Regions from separate parts of the Homo sapiens genome. Here all the other regions are linked to region 2. The links are contacts of gene promoters, found by promoter capture Hi-C in blood cells and fetal thymus (Javierre and others, 2016). All regions are on one chromosome and are shown on one strand. The core of a region is centred on a gene start or on the middle of the fragment in contact, and the rest is flanking DNA. Distances in the headings are between cores, read along the strand shown.

Region 1 (3,191 bases), core at 173-2,672, 120 kb before region 2:
AACAACTCATTCAAGGACAAAGTCAATCTCTTAGGCAAATTGTGTGGTAAATGATGTTGATCAGTCCCTTGCAAGAAACTGCTAATCATATGACCAGTCTCACTTAGCCTCTTGCCACACAGAGGTCATGAAAGGATGCTGGTGCCATCTCATGGTAATGCTCAGAGCCCACAGGAGATACAAATGCTAGGACTGTTCACATTTGAACAGCAGCTTGTACATATTTAGCATTAATTCTGTTAAATATTTTTAAATACTCAATTCAGAAGCATAAATCCAAACACCAACGGGATGCTAACACATCGCTCCATGCCAAACACCTTGCAATGTGCACAGTCATTTGCCCTCTAAAATTCACACCCGTTCAAGTTACTCTTCTCACCTTGTCTTCCAGCAGATGATCTGCACACTTGCCCCTTTTTAGACACTGGCTGCTTTCTCCTACAGAAAATTTAAATTCCAAATTGTTTGGGTCTTTTTCTTTTTTTAAAATCCCTGAAGAGACTGGACTGGGAAGAGGAAAAACGATGAATAACACACAGGTGCTTCCTACCTAATTAAAAGAAAAGTTTACAGCTGCACTGGTTGTGAATCATCCCTCTGGGTTATCCAGTGTATCCTTCAAGTGGCACGTAGTTCCATCAAGAGCCATATTCCATATGCTTTCCTGAAAACTGCCTTCTCTTTGCTTGGTAAAATGATGACTATCAGGTAACTAATGGCATTTTATACTTCCTGGCTTTCCTCTCTATGGACAAAGCAGTTCATTTGTGCTTCCTTATTTCTAAAAATAAATAACCCTGAAAAAAGGACTCAACTTAGTGAATCAAGCTTTGATTTATGTTGAAAAAGCAAGATGCAAATTTGTGTATTTATTATCATTTCTGTGTAAGAAATACATATACATTTATATGATACATATATAAAATGTGAATATATATAATATGTATATATTTATATACATATAATTTATAATATTCAATACACAGTATATTATATATATATATTCATCTATTTCTTTCTTTTCTTTTTTTTGAGACAGAGTCTTGCTCTGTTGCTCAGGCTGGAGCGCAGTGGCACATTTTCAGCTCACTGCAACCTTTGCCTCCCGGGTTGACGCGATTCTCATGCCTAAACCTCCCAAGAAGCTGGGATTGCAGGCACATGCCACCACACCCAACCAGTTTTTTTGTATTTTTAGTAGAGACGGGGTTTCGCCATGATAGCTAGGCTGATCTCAAATTTCTGGCCTCAAGTGATCTTCCCGTCTCAGCCATTGTATTAGTCTGTTCTCATGCTGCTTGATAAAGACATACCCAAGACTGGATAATTTATAAAGAAAAAGAGGTTTAATGGACTCACAGTTCCATGTGGCTGGGGAGGCCTCACAATCATGGCAGAAGGCGAAAGGCACACCTTACGTGGTGGCACACAAGAGAGAAAATAAGAGCCAAGTGAAAGAGGAAACCCCTTATAAAACCATCAGATATTGTGAGACTTTTTCACTACCACAAGAACAGAATGGGAAAAACCACTCCATGATTCAATTATCTCCCACCAGCTCCCTCCCACAACACATGGGAATTATGGGAGCTACAATTAAAAATGAGATTTGGGTGGGGACACAGCCAAACCACAATCGCCTCCCACAGTGCTGAGATTACAGATGTGAGCTACTGCACCTGGCCTATATACATGAATTTCTTACTTAAGTACATGTATCATACACACACTAACACACACACACACACATACACACACACACACCCTGCCACTACCTCCAGAGAAACCAAATAATGAAATAATGAGGATAGGAGAAGACAGTTGTCAGGGATAAGTTCTACTGTTCTCATTGTATACTTTTTAAAATCTTGGATAATCATACACGTAATATATTAATGGTCCAAAAAAGTTAACTTTGACTTCTTTAAAAATTTGTCTGGACTGCCAGGTGTTTTCTTATATTTTAAATTTATAATGTCAAAGGTAATTGAAATAATCTGTTTTTATTTCTTAAGCTTATCCTTAGACATTTCCACCTTCTTACACATAAAGAGAGAAACATCTAGAAAGATACATATTATACCATTAACTCTAAAGGATGAGGAGTTACATGGGGCTACAGGGTTTCCTTTCTCCTCTATCCTTCTACATCACTAGTAGCACTTTTGAAATTGAAAAATAAAACCAACAATGAGATACCACTACACACCTATTAGCAAAGCCAAAATCCTAAACACTGACACCACCAAATGCTGACAAGGATATGGAGCAACAGGAACTCTCACTCACTGCTGGTGGGAATGCAAAATTATATTGCCACTTTGGAAGACAGTTTGGCAGTTTCTTATAAAACTAAACATAATCTTACCACACAATCTAGCTAGCAATCATGTTCCTTGGTATTCAGCAAAGGAGTTGAAAACTTATGTCCACACAAAAACCTGCACATGAAAGTTTATAAAAGCTTTATGTGCAATTACCAAGTCATCCTTCAGTAAATGAATGGATAAAAGAACTATGGTACATCTAGACAAGGCAATATGATTCAACACTAAAAAGAAACACACCATCAAGCCATGAAAACACATGGAGGAAACTTACAAATGCATAGTGCTAAGTGAAAGAAGCCAATGTGAAACGGCTACATACTATATGATTCCAATTATCTGACATTCTGGAAAAGGCAAAACGATGGAGACAGTAAAAAGATCAAAAGTTAGGGGAGTGGGGAGATAAATAAGTAGAGCACCAAGAATTTTTAGGCGGTGAAACTAGTCTGTATATTATAATGGTGGACACGTGTCATTACATATTTGTTCAACCCTATAAAATGTACAACACCAAGAATGAACCCTAATGTAAACTAAGGTCTTTGGGTGATAATGATGTGTCAATGTAGGTTCATCAATTGTAACAAATGTACCACCTTGGTGGGGGACGTTGATAATGGGGGAGGCTGTGCACAGGCTGGAAGCAGAGGGTACATAGGAAATCTTTGTACCTTCCTCTCAATTTTATTGTGAATCTAAAAATGCTCTAACGAAGTCTATTGTTTTTAAACAGCTACTCAGAAAAATAAAAGAATGAAACTAATTTTACAGTTACAAAGAGAATATCTACACACTGAGGTAGGGTCAGAATCAGTAAACATGAATTCCTATCATTAAGCATTTTTATTAAATACCTAG
Region 2 (2,883 bases), core at 196-2,695:
CTCAGGAACCGCCAGGCAGTGGTGTCCTAGCTCACCTGGAGGGGTCGCGGGGTGAAGCAGATTTTCTGATGGGGGAGGTCCAATAAACTACAGACCCTCTCTTTCTGTATACCCACTCAGCAGGTATGGAAACTGACTCGTGGCCAAAGAACGCCAGCTGCATCCCTCCCCCAAGGAGCCAGGACAGCGTCCACCATGCCCCTGACTCAGTTCCCCAACTCTCTCTCGGGTGCAGGCGAGACTGCGCTGCACTTAGTGGCGGAGATAACAGGTTGGCCAGCCAGGCCTGAGAAACGTCCCCCCGCTACCTTGCGCAAACCCAGCCCCCTCTTCGAAACGCAGGTGGGCAAACAACCCTCAACCTCGCAACAACTTTGTGTATTTCACCGCCACCACAGGGCGCACGGCCTCAACTTCTCTTCACTGCGCTCCGAGGAGGGAAGCAGGAAATCGAGAATAAGGGGCAGCCCACAGACCACCCTCCTTTTCTCGGGGCGCCCCCCAAAGGCGCGCCCTGCCTTACCTTGTCTGACGGCCTTGAAGGTGACGGCCTCCTTGCAGCTGTCGATGACCCCCAGCACGTCATAGCGGGGCAAGCCGGACACCCGGACCCCCTGCACCTCCAGAAGCAGCTCCCCTTCGCCCAGCCTCGGGCCCTCGCCGCCGCCGGGAAGCCCCGCTGCCTCGACCGCCGCCACCGCTCCGACGTACGGAAACTCCCCGTGCTCCGCGCCTCCCAGCACCGTCACCCCCAGCTCGCCCTGGGGTCCCCGCTTCACGGTGCATTCGTGAACCCTGCTAGTCCAGTGGTTCTTCTTCTGGATCACTTTGGACATGATGAGTTACACCCCTCCTCCAAAAAAATAAAACGAGAGACAGGTGCCCCCCACAGCACGAGCCCCCAAGCCTCCGCTTGTTCATGGGAGAAACATCTCTCCCCAAATCACAAAACAGGAGAGAGAAACTTGGCAGCCTCGCTCCCCTGCACACGCTCGCGCACTCAAGCCATCATAAAACAAACTTTCTGGGCTTCCCCGCGAGCCCCGCACAGGCGCCCGCGAGCTTTGTTTGCATTCCGGTGCCTCTGGGTCCACGTTCCGGCGCCCGCCCGTGCTCTCCCGGACCAGAGTCCACTCTGCGCCGCTCGGGTTATTTTTTTTTCCTTCCTTCCTTTCTCTCTTGCCTTTTACAAATGCGGTGCCTCCTCTTTGCCTCCCGCCCGGCTCGCCTCTCCTCGCTGGCAGGCTGTTACTGAGGGTGAGGGAAGCCCTTCCAGCCAGTTGCCGGGAGCCCTGAAGACGCGGTGGCGGGGCGGCGGGGAGCAGGGCGGGAGGTAAGTGCTCGCGGCCCCTTTAAGCAGATACAAAGGCTCGGCTTGTTTTGTTACAGTTCATTCTATTCCGCGCCGCGGAGCGCAGCGGCCGGCGACAGGAGACGCGCGCGCATGCGCCCCGCGGCCGCCAGCCGGCCGGCCCACCCCTCCCCTCCTCCCCGAAGGGAGAGATTCCAACGTGCTTCCCGATGGGTCCTAAAACCGACCTGCCGGGAGAAGGCAACTCCCCCCCAACCCTTCCTGAACCCCTATCCTCTCTCCTTTTCTTTCAGTGCCCTGGACTCCGCGGATTCCTTTGGGGCTGGAGGGCCGCACACGTGTTTTACTCCAACTGTTTGCAACTTTTGAAACCCGGGCAATCTGGCTTTGGCATTTGAAAACCATTTCAAACAGGTGGGGGTTGGGGAGGCTGCCACACTCACCCTGGCGCTCACACTCACGCACACGCGCACGCACTCGCGCCGGCCCTAAGCCTCCTAACCGCCCTCGGCCAGTGGCTGGCCAGGCTGTCGGTCACCCAGCCCGGCTGGTTCGCCGCCCCCCTTGCCGCAGGTCCCACTGAAACCCCCGAGACCCGCCCCGGGGCGCTCGCCGCCTCCCTGCCTGCCCTGCGCTTGCGGGTTCGGGTCCTGGCGCGGGGTCTGCCAGGGTCTCTGCGACCCGGGGGAGGGGGACGGTGGGATCCTCCGGTTCCCCAACTGGGATCCCTGTGCGGGTCACACGCGCTCTTACACACACCCGCATCCTTAAACTTTGGGACCAACTTTTTAGGACACGGGAAACTACAGGCAAGAGAGAGAAGCCATGGTGCTAGTGTGGGTTCAGGTATTCAACCAAAAAAGAGATCCCTCTAGCTTTTCAACTGCCCTGCCAGCAGAGACTGCTGGACCCAGTCAATCATCTGCCCCGGCCTCAAGTTCCTGGCAGGGCCGAGAAGCCTGCGGACCTACTCCGGGGCCAGGAGATAAGGATCCCCGCCGGGCGCGGACATGCCCTGCGTCCTGGCGCCCGCGGGGGCGTGAGAGAACTCGGAATTCGCAGCCCGGGGGTAGCTGCGGCCTCCGGAGGTCGCCCGGGGGTGCGGATGGAGTGACTTCTGTCCCGGCGAGGTGGCGGACAGAAAGACTCCCATACCACAGGAAGGCTGCCCTTCCCAAATACTCCTCAAATCAGGCTGCTGAGTAGTCTCCCCAGCAGTTTGTTTTCCTCTTTAGTGATGTATAATTTTGTTCATCTTTGGTCACAGGAGAGATTCCAAGAAATGAGGGGGGTACGTTGAAACGATGAAGAAAGGATGGACACAGCAGTCGAGGTTGAGAGGTAGGCTCAGGGGTCCACCCTTGTGTGACCTTGAGCAAGCTTGGTGACCTCCGCGCCTCCGTTTCTCGCTGATCAAATAAGTAGAACAAGACCTCACAGGGTTCTTGGAAGTATTACGTGGGAAAACACTTATAAAGTGGCAAATAATAAAAACTCATTATATTCTTAATAGTAGTATTACTATTTGGGAAGAAAATTGGGAAATCATTTGGGGATTCAAGTTAGTAAGT
Region 3 (2,982 bases), core at 150-2,649, 100 kb after region 2:
GGGAATAAGATGCTCTGTGTGACTGTGAGCTTCCTGAGGTCAGAGTGTGTCTAACTCATCTTGTTATCCCCCAACTCCTAATACAGTTCCTAGCACCTAGGACTCCATAAGAGCTTGTTTTCTTCTTTCCTTTGCAAAGCTAGTTAGTATAGTCACATGAACATTTTCTTTTTTCTTTTTTTTGTTTTTTGAGACAGTGTCGCTCTGTCACCCAGGCTGGAGTGCAGTAGCCCAATCTTGGCTCTCTGCCACCTCTGCCTCCCAGGTTCAAGCGATTCTCCCACCTCAGCCTCCAGAGCAGCTGGGATTACAGGCGTGCATTACCACACCCAGCTAATTTTTGTATTTTTAGTAGAGACGGGGTTTCACTATGTTGGCCAGGTTGGTCTCGAACTCCTGACCTCAAGTGATCCACCCGCCTCAGCCTCCCAAAGTGCTGGGATTACAGGCATGAGCCACCATGATCGGCCCACATGAACATTTTCTATGGCATTATTAAACAGAGAGTATTGCATGTGAACACGTAAAATAAACATGGGCATTTATAATGTTTTATTTTTCCTATGGTGATCAAAGCTGTTCAATGTATACATCGTATACAATGTATACATCTGAAGTATGGAAATATGCAATGAAGGAAGAAAAAAATCATCCCACAAATCTCACCCCCCTTCAGACACATCACACTCCAGGGCAACCATTCTTAATTTGATAAATTTCTCTTTTTTTCTATAATTAAAAATATTATACACTTGAGATCCTAGTACACATGCAATTTTGCAACCTGTTATTTTCTCCTAAGGTTAGATTTTGCTTGGCACTCAAAATCCATCCAGCATGATTTTTATTGTTTGACCTACATTGGGGCCTTTCTTTCCCATCTGTCATGGGGTTGGCCAACAGAATGTCAACCTGTGAATTCTCTGGTAAAATGTTTCCAAATGACAAATCAGACAATTTGGTGGGAGGATTGATGCAGGGGGAGGGGGGGTAGGGATGTATTGGGGTAGGGGAAGAGGGAGATGAAGGGAAGCAGTTAAGGAAGGAGGCATGGGAGAGAGCCAGAGGTTCCTCTTCACAAACCGTATTGGGAGGTCCTGGATACGGGCATCGGTTCCTTGGCAAAGCTTGGAAGCCACCCATTAATCTTGTACTCCCTCTGCTGGCTTTGCTGAGCACAGCCACTGTGTGATTAATGTGAATAGTAATGGTCCTGAGTCCACTGAAATCCCCCGTGATGAACAGGAAAGACAAACAGTCATTCTTTTTGAGATTCTTTTTTATAAGATCCAAGTTCACACTAACAGGAGTAGATTGATTGATTACTTATTCAGTTGAAACGAATTCAAATTGCTGCCCCACCCCTCCTGTCCTCCTCCCCTCCCCATCCTCTTTTCCTCTGCCCCAGGAGAATGAAATTCTAAAGTTCTCAGCTTTTCCTTTCAAGATTCTTATGATTCTCCTGATGATCTCACTTCTCTTTACTGTATTTTGCTGTTGCTTTTCTCTGTTTCACCTTCTGTGCCACCCCGCCCACCTCCTTGATAGTGCCATTTGTGAATAAAAAAGGAATGGTGAAACCCTGCCTTTGCTTTGCAAAGCAGGGTTGCATTAGCTTCTCTAATTCTGCAGCCTCTTATTTCTCCATTTTTGCTTAATTCAAAGTTGTTAAAAGCTTTTCAAAATAGGTGTATGCTCTACTTGACAGTTGTGAGAAAACAATGCCTCCAATAAAAAGAAAGCAAGATACATTTGCAATTTCCTTTTCCATAATTTATAGTGATTTAGCTCCCCCCTATCAGGAGATAAAAATTTCTTTGGGAACAAGTTTCTTTTAATAGCATCATCTGAAGCAGCACACATTTCTTTCGCGGTCATTAGAGCTCCTAGCCTACAAAACAGTGACTGAAGATTGAATTAGATTTAGAGGGAGGCTGCCTGTATCACATAAATAAACAGGGCCCTGGCCATTTCATTACAGAACTTAGATAAGCAGTACAGATGGTCGGCTGCAGTGTTACACATGCATAACCTATTTAAAAGATGACATTATAGGGTCAGAAGCATTAATGTACTCACAGTGTCATTTGTTTACTCTACTTGAGTTACTTCTTTCACACTAAGCGCTAAAGCCGTGGGTCAGGCAAATTATTGCAGGCAGTAATGCAGACTAGATGAAAAGATAAGGGAATTATTGAATGATGAGAGCATAAACACTAAATTAGTTTAAGGATTTATGGCCCCAAGCTTAACCTAATAGATGTTATTTGCTATTGATCCTTCTCAAGGTGTTGTAGGTGACAAAAAACCCAAAAACCTCATTCGTTTAAGCACATCAAGAAAGGTAATTAACTTACTAACTTACTGGCTCATGGAACTGAGAGATCAGAGCTTCAGGTATGGCTGGTTCTAGTGCTCAGAATGGCTGTCAGGTCTGTTCTCTTTCATGGTGGCTTCATTTGCAGGATGCTCTCATTACTGGTGTTCAGATGCTCCATGCCTATGTATTAACACTTGCAAGTACAATGGAAAGAGGTTCTTTGTTATTCTAGCAAAAGATCAGGAATTACATCTCTTGACCAATTTTGGATATGCGCCTTTTCTGAACCAATGATTAGAGGTGGAAGAATGGAATGTGTATTCCGTTGAGTCATGTGCTCATCCTGTGAGCCCTGAGTTTAGGGCAGGGGTTGGTGGAGTTTGTGGATAGCATCACCAAGACAGCTAGACTAGGAGAGGGTGGCTCCTCAAAGAAAAAATCCACATGCTACTAACACAGGAAGGTGGTGTGGAAGCCAGGTAGGCAAAATGGGATTTCTAATCCTTCAACCAGTGCACTTCAGAAAGGATCATTCACTAGAACCTTCGAATGAATTCAACTAACATACAGGATGCACGCTGAGGTAAAAACTAGAAAATGTCCGTAAATCTGTTCATTCACCTGAGGTTTCTGTTCCAAGTTAAATCTATTAGCAGGCAGGA

Evidence for each region. Contacts are between HindIII fragments. The CHiCAGO score rates a contact against its expected background, and 5 or more counts as called.
Region 1: a fragment that was not itself captured here is called in contact with the fragment with the promoter of MAGI1 in region 2 in 1 of 17 cell types (endothelial precursors); the score reaches 5.1 in endothelial precursors.
Region 3: a contact is called between a fragment that was not itself captured here and the fragment with the promoter of MAGI1 in region 2, in 1 of 17 cell types (endothelial precursors). The highest score is 8.7, in endothelial precursors.

What each region holds. Positions count from the first base shown.
Region 1 is chr3:65,915,050-65,918,240 of GRCh38, forward strand. All of the region lies in intron 1 of MAGI1 (membrane associated guanylate kinase, WW and PDZ domain containing 1), which reads right to left. All of the region lies in intron 1 of MAGI1-IT1 (MAGI1 intronic transcript 1), which reads right to left. The region is part of intron 2 of MAGI1-AS1 (MAGI1 antisense RNA 1); the gene reads left to right. Among named protein-coding and RNA genes, the nearest start is that of MAGI1-AS1, 23 kb to the left of the region's middle. RefSeq lists a silencer at 505-799. The HindIII fragment of the contact is 1,187 bases long and covers 830-2,016 here.
Region 2 is chr3:66,037,473-66,040,355 of GRCh38, forward strand. It overlaps MAGI1 (membrane associated guanylate kinase, WW and PDZ domain containing 1), which reads right to left and starts at 1,446. Exons shown (of 23, transcript NM_001033057.2): 1 at 524-1,446. The coding sequence starts at 836. It overlaps LOC105377128 (a long non-coding RNA gene), which reads left to right and starts at 1,481. Exons shown (of 2, transcript XR_001740440.2): 1 at 1,481-1,726; 2 at 2,580-2,822. RefSeq lists an enhancer at 1-461 and a silencer at 1,414-1,533. The HindIII fragment of the contact is 5,984 bases long and covers 1-2,690 here.
Region 3 is chr3:66,137,664-66,140,645 of GRCh38, forward strand. It overlaps a transcript of SLC25A26 not described here. Among named protein-coding and RNA genes, the nearest start is that of SLC25A26, 82 kb to the right of the region's middle. The HindIII fragment of the contact is 548 bases long and covers 1,126-1,673 here.